2 separate regions of the Homo sapiens genome follow, and region 2 is linked to region 1. The links are contacts of gene promoters, found by promoter capture Hi-C in human tissues and cell types (Jung and others, 2019). All regions are on one chromosome and are shown on one strand. The core of a region is centred on a gene start or on the middle of the fragment in contact, and the rest is flanking DNA. Distances in the headings are between cores, read along the strand shown.

Region 1 (5,877 bases), core at 970-3,469:
AAGGTTAAGAAAAAATACAATGAGAAATTCATTATAAGAAATTATTTTGTTGTCATCTAGTCATGTAAGTTTTTTCTTTAGTGGTGGTAACATGTGCTCATTCATCGTAGTTCGTTGCTCATGCCACGTGGTCATTGTCTCATGCTTATGGGCACCTCTCTTTAGTGACACCCACCTATTGGGGGGTCCCATTTGTAAAGAATTTTGTTGATGTGCTGAATACAAATTGATTTCCTAGAGTCTTGTCTGTTTTGGGCTGCTATAAAAGAATACCATAGACTGAGTAATTTATAAAGAACAGAAATTTGTTTTTTCCACAGTTCTGGAGGCTGGGAAGTCCAAAATCCAGGGGCCATTAGATTCATTGTCAGGTGAGTGTCTGGTCTCTGTTTCCAAGATGTCGCCTTGAAGGCTGCATCTTCCAGAGAGGAGGAGTGCTGTGTCCTCACATGGCAGGAGACTGAAGGGCAAAAGGAGTCTAACTTCCTCCATCATTCCTTTTTCTAAGCATATCTAATCCTATTCATGAAGGCAGAGCCCTCATAGCCTAATCACCTCCCAAAAGGCCCCACCTCTTAATACTATCACATTTGTAATATTTGATTTCTGGAGGGGATACATTCAAACCATAGCAGATGCTCATGAAAGTAGAAACAGTGGCTAATGCCAGAGAAAGAAGCTGAGGATCTGGGAAGTCTTACTTGTGGATTTTACGTTATATGTTCCATTCCCACATGTAAATAAATGAGTTAATTGAAATGGAAGAAAATGAAGAAAGATGGAGAATTGTGTCATGGAACAATGGACAGCAGTCATAACATAATGGGTGAAAACAAAGCTCAAATACATGAGGATGATTATATCTTTAACGGTATCTCGAAGCTGTAAGAGATCAAGTCTTGACTTCTATGTTAAAAAAGAAAGAAAACTGATGACCCATATTTAAACTGAGGCATGTGACATTTCTGCTCTACTCAGCACTCTTCACTCATCTAACAAAAATTCATTATGGCTTCTTATGTTCCAGGCACTGGGCTAGGTGTTTAAGGAAGACAGAGGGAGGAAATAAAAATTTTTATAAAACAGTCTTTGTCCTCAAGCAGCTCACAGGGCAGAGAGACCCTGACAGAGTAGAGATTTCATGAAGAGTGGGGATGGGAAGGGCATTCTCTCCATACGCATCCCTGTCCCACCTCGGAGATTTCCTCCTCAGAACGCTACCTCTTACTGCTTTCCTGCCTCACTCTTTCCAGCTCTCAGTTTAGAAGGTGTTTCCTCAGAGCACCTTTGCTGACCTCTCAAGTCTGGTGAAAGGCCCTTCTCACTGGTGCCTGGATGCCCTGTGTGCTCCTGTCATACACACAACACAGCATAGTAAAATGCCTGGTGTATGTGTTTGTCTTTTCAATACTCTGAGCTCTGCTCATTGGCAAATCTCAGGACATAGCACAAGATGTGGCCCCTAAATGTTAACTGAATGAACGAATGGAATCACTGGTATCTCTTTAGCTTGAAGAATAGAAAGCCCTTGTAGGACAAAGAAGATTGGGAGAAATGTGAAGTCTGGCGTGGACTCTGTCAGAAGGCAGAACTGAACCAATGGATGGACTTAGAAGAGAGAGACTTCGGTTTCACATCAGGAATGATATCATAGTCAGAACTCACCACACACATAATAGGTTAGATGAGGGAGGAGGGAGTCCTTCATTGCAGGAGTTTTAAAGGTGAATACAAGAAATGGGAGGCACTTGGCCTGGCGCGGTGGCTCAGGTCTGTTAATCCCAGCACTTTGGGAGGCCGAGGCCGGTGAATCACAAGGTCAGGAGTCGAGACCAGCCTGGTCAAGATGGTGAAACCCTGTTTCTACCAAAATACAAAAATTAGCCGGGTGTGGTGGCGGGCACCTGTAATCCCAGCTATTTGGGAGGCTGAGGCAGAAGAATCACTTGAACCTGGGAGGCAGAGGTTGCAGCGAGCCAAGTTTGAGCCACTGCACTCTAGCCTGGGCGACAGAGCAAGACTCCGTCTAAAAAAAAAAAAAAAAAAGAAATGGGAGGCACTGAGTTTCTGGCTCAGTTTGTGATGCCAGAAATACAGAGATGACTGATCAGTAAAATCCACTAGAAAGTGTGTGACAGGTTTCTTTTTCCTTATATTTTTCTTTTTTAAATACAAAAGTAATAGCAGCCCACTGAAAATTTGAAAAGTATATGGCATTAAAAAGAGAAAAATAACATCTGATAATCCAACAAGATAAACTCTCTAAAATTTCTTTTCTCTTTTTAAATGAATATAGTTAAGCTTGAAATAGAATTTTAAATTTATCCTGATGTTTTACTCAACAGCGGAGAAGCATCTTTTATGTCATTATTTTAAGTCACAACCACTTTTAGTGATGATGATTAAAGAACCATTTGCTTTTTCCTTACTGTTCCCTGTTTTTAGATTTTTGGCTAGTGTCTAATTTTTCCCTGTTATAAATAATGCTGAGATGAACAGAATATGTAGATTTCTAATAATTTGCAAATGAACAGCATATGAAAAACATGGGCAAAAATTTTGCAGTTATAATTACTCAACACAAGTTTTAAATAAATTACTTTTATTTTGAGCGTTCATTCTTACATATGTTATAGGAAGTAAGAAGCATTCCTTACTCCTTAGAATTTTGTTTATAAATTAGTGATGAATTGGAAAGGGTAGCTTGCCCCTGGAATTCTCTGATAAGCACAGGTGATGAGGAAAATGGAGAAATCCAAGAATTCTTTTGTCTTTCCTTAAAAGTAGTCAACTTTAAGTGCAGTGCAGGCGTGCCCTCTAGCGGCCAAATAAAAAATAAATAGGCCTTCAGCCCTGTAACAATCGCACGTCCCCATCTAGTGGCTAACGTCTGTAAATGCAGCTTTTCTAATCACAATAGCGAATGTTACTTGATTTATATTTGTCTTAGGTGAAGAACTGGGAGGACTCTTAGAGATCACGTATTTCAACTTCCTCACGGAGTGGCATGCAGGCAGCAGCAGCCTTGGGAACCCCGATTGCCCCTCCTCACACCTGCCCATCACAGGACTTGGGCGACGGGGTGGTGAAGTCAGGCTGTGGCCCCAGCGGCGCCACGAGGCCGAAAACCGGCGCTCAGCCTCATCCCGGTGGCTGCGGAGTGCCAAGCGCCAGGTCCTGCGCTCTGGGCGTGGGTCAGGAGCAGCTGGCAAGGGCAGCGCAGCCTATGGGGCCTTTGGGCGCGGCCGGCCGCAGCTCCGGGAAGCCACGTCAGCCCACGGGCGCTGCAGCTGCAGCCGCCACCAGCACATGGAGCAGGGGTCCCCGAGGATTGGGAATCCCCGACCAGGCCTGCGCCTCCAGCCGCGCGGACCCCGGGGCCAGCCTGGCCGCGGCAAGTCAGGCAGTCTGCGGCAGGAGCGCCGGGCATGGGCTTCGGCCGGGGGTGCAGGAGGCGCGCACCCTCCGGCCGGATGGCGGCGCACTCAGGGCTCAGGAGGCCATCCCACGGGAGCCCCGCCAGCCCCCGCCGGAGCCCGAGCTGCAGTGCCGCCTGCAAGTGGTGCGCTGGCTGCAGCTGTGGCAACCCCGGATACCGTCCTCCCGCCTCGCACCCATCAGCGCGGACCCCGGGGGCGACGCAGTGGCGATGTCGGGCTGTGGGCCCAGCGGTGGCACTAGGCGGAGAAGCACCACTCAACCCCATCCCTGGGCTGCAGAGGGCCCAGCGCGGGGGGCTCCGAGCGTCGGGAGCCTGTGGAAGAGAAGAGCGCGCGGGCGACAGTTAAACAGGCCCTGGGGCAGGGCGCGCCTCGCGCTCCAGGGAGCCCCGCCCTCCCGCGGCACCTCCGCAGCAACCGCCGCCTGCACCGGGCGCGCGAGAGCTGCTAGGGCGGTTTCTCTGCCTCGGGCCTGTTGGGCAGGGCCGGCTAAGGTGCGCGTGCTCGCTGGTTCTAACCCTTCTGTTGGGCGTTTCTGCGGAGAGGCGGGAGGCGCTGAGAGTCTGCGCGGAGGTCCGTGCACAGACTGCTTTGCCTGTTGTTGCTCTTCGGAGGCGGCGATCCCCGAAGGCGAGCTGAAATACGGCTGCAGGCTACAATTTGCAGCCGACGATTAAGGAAGACGACGAGCGGGAGAGGTGGCCCACCCTCATGGAGCGCTTGTGCTCGGATGGCTTCGCATTTCCCCATTACTACATTAAACCGTATCATCTGAAGAGGATCCACAGAGCTGTCTTACGTGGTAATCTGGAGAAACTGAAGTACCTTCTGCTCACGTATTATGACGCCAATAAGAGAGACAGGAAGGAAAGGTAATGGGGGCCGGGAGCCGGGGCTGCGGGAGGAGGCCTGTGGATGTGGAGAAGTACCCCTTTGCAGGCTGAGGGCTGCGGGGCGGATGGTCCGGGGCTCGGGGTATGGACGGGGGCTAGGGGGTGCCTGGCTGGGGTGGGAGTGAGTGGAGCGGGGCCTGGGGAGTGGCGGTATATGGGGTGGCGGGGTGTGGAGTGAGTTGGGGGATGGGAGTGGGGAGTAGGGGGTGCATGGGGTGGGGGCGTGAATGGGCTGAGGTGGATGGAATGAAGGCTTGGGGGGTAGGGGCGTGGATGGTGTGGGGTGGGGAGATGGGGTGAGGGTTCAATGGGATAGAGGACTGGAGGTGGGGGTGAGGTGTGGGGGTGAATGGGGTGGGGGAAAGGGGTGCAGAGGTGAGGGGGGCGAGTCCTGTCACCAAAGGGGCTGGACTTTCTTTCCTGGCAGGCTCAGCCGCACCTGGGATGTGGAAACCTTGGCGGGGGCGAGCACCCAGGTCATTTTCACAAGCAGCAAAACAAAAACAAAACTTCAGCTGGTTTCCAATCACTCACCATGCTGCTTCTTTATAAATCATTTTAAAGTGATTTCACTAATAAAATTCAGCATGTACAGCGTTTTATTTTTAACGTGCACATTTTAAAGCATAATGTTACATACATTATGGAAAGGTGCATAATGAGAGAAATCATTTCCATAATATATCAACTTCCTGGCTAAAAATTCTTTGGATAAAAATCCAATATTTATTTGATATCAATGGACACCTATGTCAATTTGGTTTTCACTGAGGGACCTTAGAGGGAAACTTTGAAGTGGGAAGATGGTCTGTGTTCTTGAATAGAAAGACACATTTTTCTAAAGTTCTGAGCTCTTTCTGTGTTTATAAATTTTACATAATCCAAATAAAGTTATCAAAGTGTTAACATTTTTGAATTACTCATGCTGTCTTTTACTATTGTGACGACATTAAGAAAACTTTTGAAATGGAGTCAAAAAAGACTTGCCTTTCTAGATATGAAAATGTGCTGTTAATTTCCACAAGTTATTTACTAACAGCTGAAACAACAAATCAGTGAATGGAACAGGTTAGAAAATCCAGGAACACACCAATATGTGTAAGAATATATTAGGTTGGTGCAAAAGCAATTGCGGTTTTTGCCGCAATTACAAGTAATGGCGAAAACCGCAATTGCCTTTGCACCAATCTAATAGAATTGGATAATGGTGACATTTCATATTAGTAGGAAAAGATGAATTACTCATAAATGAAGTGCCTGCTAACTATTTGGAGAAATCTGGCTAGATTTTCATGTCACAGAAATAAGTTCGTTATGGAATGTAGATTAAAAATTTTAAATGCACAAAATAAGAAAGATAACAGAAAAAAACACAAATGCCTACTTATATTGATGCATGTTTATATTCCTACAAATATCACAAGCACACATTCTGAAGGTCGATTTAGCAAAATAAAAAAAATCCAGTTTATAAGAAAAAATTAACAAAAGACAATATGTGTGTATACATATTAGATAAAAAAGTGATTTTCATTTTACAGAGA
Region 2 (6,244 bases), core at 3,725-6,224, 72 kb before region 1:
CTGTTCCATGGCTGAGATGGCAGATATCTTTTAGGGGTAAAAACTTGCACAAAGAGTTATATAGGGCCGGGCACGGTGGCTCACACCTGTAATCCCAGCAATCTGGGAGGCCAAGGCAGGCAGATCACTTGGGGTCAGGAGTTCAAGACCAGCCTGACCAACATGGTGAAACCCCATCTCTACTAAAAATACAAAAATTAGCCAGGTGTGGTGGCGAGTACCCATAGTCCCAGCTACTTGGGAAGCTGAGGCAGGAGAATCACTTGCACCTGGGAGGTGGAAGCTGCAGTAAGCCAAGATCACACCACTACACTTCAGCCTGAGCAACCGGGCGAGACTCTGTCTCAAAAAAGAAAAAAGAAAATAATCTGCATAGAAGTGGACCCGCACAGTTCAACCCTGTGTTGTGTAGATGCTGACTGAATCGTCTCCCAGTTCTGGAGGCTGGAGGTCTGAGATCAAGACGTCAGCAGGGCTGGTTCTTTCTGAGGCTGTGAGGGAAGTCTCTGTTCCAGGACGTGGGCTCAGATGGCCATCTTCTCCTTGGGCTTGCAAGACATCTTCCCTCCATACACACCTGAGTCCACATTTCCTCTTCTAAGAACACAGGATCATATCGGATTAGGGCCTGCCCTAATGACTTCATTTTAACTTGATTTCCTCTGTAAAGACCCTATCTCCAAATACAGTCACATTCTGAGGTTCGGCGGGGTGGCTAGGACTTCAACATATGAAGAGAGGGTACCATGTAATCTGTAACAGCAGGTCATGGTAACCACAGAAATCTTATTTCTCTAAAATACCTTCCAAAACAAAAACAAAAACTAGAATAAAAAATAACAAAGAATATATAAAACAACACAAAACCCACACCCTCACCACAACCACAGGACAGAAAATGTCCAAATTCCAAATGACTGGTAAATAGAAAAATAAATGCTAACCCGGGCTCCATCTCTTTTGCTTCTGCTGCTGGCCTTTGCAAAGAGGAAACCTGGAGGTTGAAGAGGGTCTAAAATCTCCATCCTGAGTTTGCAAATGCTGAAAGCGTAACCTGGTTGATCAGTACAAATACCCAGGGGTGGAAGTGCCCTGGGGACAGGAGATTGGTGAGACTCTCTCACCAATGGACTCTCTCTCCCTCTCTAAAAAAACAATGATGTTTATTCAGGAACGGGCATTACAATGGGAATAAGTATGGATGTGTTCCAGGAGGTAAAGGAAGACATTTTTTAAAGAAAAAATGAAAAGGGTTACATAGGCTTTTATAAGACAATCATCTTTGGGGCCAGGCACGGTGGCTCACACCTGTAATCCCAGCATTTTGGGAGGCCGAGGCAGGCAGATCACAAGGTCAGGAGATCGAGATCATCCTGGCTAACACGGTGAAACCCCATCTCTACTAAAAATACAAAAAATTAGCCAGGCGTGGTGGTGGGCGCCTGTAGTCCCAGCTACTCGGGAGGCTGAGGCAGGAGAATGGCATGAACCCGGGAGGCGGAGCTTGCAGTGAGCCGAGACCGCACCACTGCACTCCAGCCTGGGTGACAGAGTGAGACTCCATCTCAAAAAAAAAAAAAAAAAAAACTTAGCTGGGCATGGTGGCGGGAACCTGTGATCCCAGCTACTAGGGAGGCTGAGCCAGGAGAATTGCCTGAACCCGACAGGTGGAGGTTGCAGTGAGCCCAGATTGCGCCACTGCACTCCAGCCTGGGCAACAGAGAAAGATTGTCTCAAAAAAAAAAAAAATAAAAAAGAGACCTGAAGGTGCCTCATATACTGTTCAGAGACATTCATGCATATAACAGTCTACACTCGGTGTCTGCTTTCTCTTTGCTTTTACTTAGCAATGTGTCCTGATATGTTTCATATGAAATTATATAGCACTCTCTCATTATTTTTAATGGCTACACAGTGATCTATTTTATGAATGTATAAACACTAGATGCAAATGAATACATACCAATGACTTCATCTGCACAAAGTCCAGAAACAGGCAATACTAATATGTTTTCAAAATTCAGGATAGAGGTCACCTCGGAGGAGGAACAGGTCAGAGACCAAGGGGTAGGAGCTGACGGGGGGGCTGTTCATGCTATTAGGAAAACAGGAGCCTAGGAGAGACAGGGTGACACCATTTTAAAATCAACTGCTTTTTTTTTTTTTTTTTTTTTTGAGACAGAGTCTGGCTCTGTCACCCAGGCTGGAGTGCAATGGTGCGATCTGGGCTCACCGCAACCTCCATCTCCCGGGCTCAAGCCAACCTCCCACCTCAGCCTCTGGAGTAGCTGGCACTACAGGCGCACAACATCATGCCCGGCTAATTTTTGTATTTTTTGTAGAGACAGGGTTTTGCCATGTTGTCCAGGCTGGTCTCAAATTCCTGGGCTCAAGCAATCCACCCACTTCAGCCTCCACAAGTACTGGGATTACACGCATGAGCTACCGTGCCCATCTCAACCCCATCTTTTTTTTTTTTTTTTTTTTTGAGACGGAGTCTCACTCTGTCGCCCAGGCTGGTGGCGCGATCTCGGCTCACTGCAACCTCCGCCTCCTGGGTTCAAGCGATTCTCCTACCCCAGCCTCCTGAGTAGCTGGGACAACAGACGCATGCCACCACGCCCAGCTACTTTTTTGTATTTTTAGTAAAGACAGGGTTTCACCGTGTTAGCCAGGATGGTCTCAATCTCCTGACCTCGTGATCTGCCCGCCTCGGCCTTCCAAAGTGCTGGGATTACAGGCATAAGCCACCGCGCCCGGCCCCAACTCCATCTTAAAACTAGCAAGGCACATTCCTTGCTAGTCCCAACCCATGGTCATAAGATGCTATGGCTAAAAGAGCAGTTTAGTAATGCCTGCAAGGACAAAATCCTACAACAACAAAATGTCCAGATGCTCCAATATTGCCTAACAATATATGATTTAAGATAGTTATAGTTACAGGACTCGATGGCTCACACCTGTAATCCCAGCACTTTGGGAGTCCAAAGTGGGTGGACTGCTTGAGCTCAGGAGTTCGAGACCAGCCTGGGCAACATAGCAAAACCCGGTCTCTACTAAAAATACAAAAAAATTACCTGGGCGTGATGGTGCACACCTGTGGTCCCAGCTACTTGGAAGGCTGAGGCAGGAGGATAGCTTGAGCCTGGGAGGTGGAGGTTGCAGTGAGCTGATATCAGGCAACTGCACTCCAGCTTGGGCAACAAGGTGAGACCCTGTCTCAAAAAAACAAAACAAAACAAAATATATATATATATATATATATATATATATATATATAGAGAGAGAGAGAGAGAGAGAGAGAGAGAGAGAGAGAGAGAGAGAGTCATGCTTTGATGTATTTATGCATTAAAATGCCAAGGATAACTTTCTTTAAATCAAAAAGCACTAAATTTTGTTATGCTGTCAGCCCACCCTCATGTAGACATAGCTTAGTTTTTACATAGATAAGACCCCTCTATAAGAAGAGTTTAATATAAAGAGGGTGTGTTCCCCCTCTTGCTTTCTGAGGATGGCCTACTCTGTAACTGAGTAGCTTTCAATAAACAATCGCTTCTCACTGCACTCTGCAACTTGCCTTGAATTTCTTCTGGGCAAGATCCAATAACCCTCCCTTGGGGTCTGGATCGGGACCCCTTTTCCAGCAACAATATTGTTTCTTGAACTCGGTGGTTATGCAAGTGTGTCCACATTTTAATCATTCATTGAAATGTACATGTACACTTGTGATTTCTGCACACCCGCTTCAATTTTACAAATTTTATGCTCACAACCCATTGGGAGAGGTATATATACAGGGAAATAACTATGGATCCGTTTGGTAAACAAATGTAGAACTCAACTATCCTGCACTCTTGAAGCAGCTGACTCCAGTGCCGCAGGGGGCTACCTGCATGCCAATTCCACACCCAATAATCTTGGGCAGGTTACCAAAGTGTGAAGACCCTGACTGAAAAATGGGAGTAATAATACAACTACCTGATATTGTTGCAAGGATTTAATATAACTTATGTAAAGTGGGCAGAAGTGCTCCGCAGGCACAGAGCAGGTGCTCAATAAATGCCAGGACCAAAATACCACGAAACTGTAATTTTTATAAGGAAAAGGATCTTTTCTTCAGTGCTCAACGAGGAAATATTATGGGGCCGTGCGCAATAGCTGACGCCTGTAATCCCAACGCTTTGGAAAGACTAAGCGGGAGGATCGCTTAAGCTCAGGAGTTCGAGGCTAGCCCGGGGAACATAGCGAGATCCCTTCTCTACAAAAAAAATTTTTTTTAATTAGCTAGCGTTGCGCGGTGGCCGTATGGTGGCCAATGAGGTTTATCCGAAGCGCGATTATTGCTAATTGAAAACTTTTCGCAATACCCCACCGTGACGACTTGCAATATAGTCGACATCGGCAATTTTTAACAGTCTCTACGGAGACTATTTCAGTAAAAATAAATAAATATGGTGCGCGCCTGTAGTCCCCCCTACTGGCTGGCGCGGGAGGATCGCTTGAGCCCAAGATTTCCAGCCTGAGCGACAGAGCAAGACACCTTACCTAGAAAAAAAGAAAAAATAAATATTTTGGGTGAAATATCCAGGGCCGGCCTCCTTGGAGAGGGCGCTCTCACGAAGGAGCGTGGCCCGAGGTGCTGGGACGCGGGAAAGACGTCTTTCTGGACCGGTGCTGGGACGCGGGAAAGACGTCTTCCTGGACCGGTGAATTTCCAGCTCCACAGACTCCGGCCGCGCGCACACCAGCCCAGCTCCACTTTCTGCCGCCCGCGTCCCCTTTAAGACGGAGCCATGACATCATCCCAGACACTGCGCAGCCTACCTTGGCAACGCCGCGACCACTTTTTTCCGGACGACCTCAATTGGCTGGCCAGCCTCCGGAGGCCCCGCCCCCTTCGCGCAGCCAGCCCCGGGCACCTGCTGTCAATCGGGCCAGGTGGGAGCGATGATTGGCCGCCGGGCCCGCCCTCCAGAAAGCCCCGCGGGGCTCGCGTAGGCTGCAGGCTCGGGGAGGGAGGGCAGCGGCGCCGCGTCGGGAGCCGCCGCCGTCCCGGTCCTCCCGCCCGCCCGCCCATCCGGTGCCTCCTGCAGCCCGCCTGCTGGGCAGGGCCGGCGCGGCCCGGCCATGGAGTCCTACGACATCATCGCCAACCAGCCTGTGGTCATCGACAACGTGAGGCCCGGCAGCCAGGGGGAGGGCGGGCGCCCCGCCCCCGGGGGCGCACGCGGCGGCGCAGGGAGAGACCCCCGCCCGCCTCGGCGCGTCCTCCGCTCACTGCGTGGCCGTCGCCCCCGCCGGGCCGCTGGCTTCGCCCCGGGGGCGCGCGCCCTCTTGGCCTTGTAAGGCCGGCCATGGGGCGAGCCCCCTCGCCCGCGTCGCAGAGCCTCTTCCCCGACCCCTCCCCGAGTCGGGCGGGGAAGTTCAGGAGAGCTTGAGTGACAGCCGGGCGGCCGGGCGGGGACGCGCCCCGGACTCTTCTCAGTTGAGAGTGCGGTTCCTGGGCAGGTTTCCACACCAGTTCCTTTCCGCGTCCTTCGGCCCTGGCTCTGGCTGCCTGGCGGAGGTGGGGTAGCATTTGTCATTTGCACACTGCTGGCTTTATCTTTGGGGCTGCACCCCGAGGCAACAAATGCAGGATGCTCTGTCACCCACATGTCCACCACCATCTGGTTTGCCTTTTGGCTACTTTGACTTTCTCCTTAAATGCTTCCTGTGCTGAGCAAACATTCCACAGCCAGCAGAGCAATGGAGAGTTCATGGCCACTCTTCCCAGTATCAGCAAGCAATTTGGGGTGATCGTTTGGAAGCCTCAGAGGAAAGATGTCATCAGGCTTCCTGTGGCTTTGTCCTTCAGCAGTGGGGCTCGGCTTGCTTTCACCTGCCTTAGGAAGATTTCTGGCTTCCGAGCTCTGATATGGGGAGAAGATAAGGGCTGGGATCTTTGAGTCTGCCCCTAGCTGGGTATGTGCGTCCGGTGTGCGGGCCTTGGAGTTTTTGGTAATGACTCACTTGTGCTCTTTCTGGGATCTGTCTCCCTCCCACATGACCCCGTGGGGTCCCTGAATGACTGTTTTAGAGTACCCATGTGGGTTCCCTGAGTCACAGCAGGGGATGTTTAATAAGGAGGTTAGCACTGAGCTTGGGGACGTGCTGTCACACCAGCAGGACGCTGCAGGAAGGAGCAGGCTACTTCCTTTCTTGACGTGCAAATAACTCGTATAGGCTAATCAACAGGCTTATA

The links. The method cuts DNA at HindIII sites, captures the fragments that hold promoters and counts their contacts. A contact is called where the count stands out against the background at its distance.
Region 2: the fragment with the promoter of ACTR1B here is called in contact with a fragment that was not itself captured in region 1 in 5 of the 25 tissues and cell types used here (adrenal gland, dorsolateral prefrontal cortex, heart right ventricle and 2 more).

What each region holds. Positions count from the first base shown.
Region 1 is chr2:97,587,960-97,593,836 of GRCh38, reverse strand. ANKRD36B (ankyrin repeat domain 36B) reads left to right here and starts at 3,960. Exons shown (of 44, transcript NM_001393939.1): 1 at 3,960-4,312. The coding sequence starts at 4,152. RefSeq lists a silencer at 3,326-3,515 and an enhancer at 3,308-3,808. The HindIII fragment of the contact is 9,129 bases long and covers 1-5,877 here.
Region 2 is chr2:97,662,774-97,669,017 of GRCh38, reverse strand. ACTR1B (actin related protein 1B) reads left to right here and starts at 4,974. Exons shown (of 11, transcript NM_005735.4): 1 at 4,974-5,175. The coding sequence starts at 5,128. LOC124900516 (U4 spliceosomal RNA) reads left to right here and starts at 4,287; the gene lies at 4,287-4,427. It also overlaps a transcript of C2orf92 not described here and the pseudogene RNU4-8P. RefSeq lists enhancers at 4,456-4,795, 5,836-5,905, 5,871-6,244 and silencers at 4,876-5,335, 5,416-5,475. The HindIII fragment of the contact is 10,185 bases long and covers 1-6,244 here.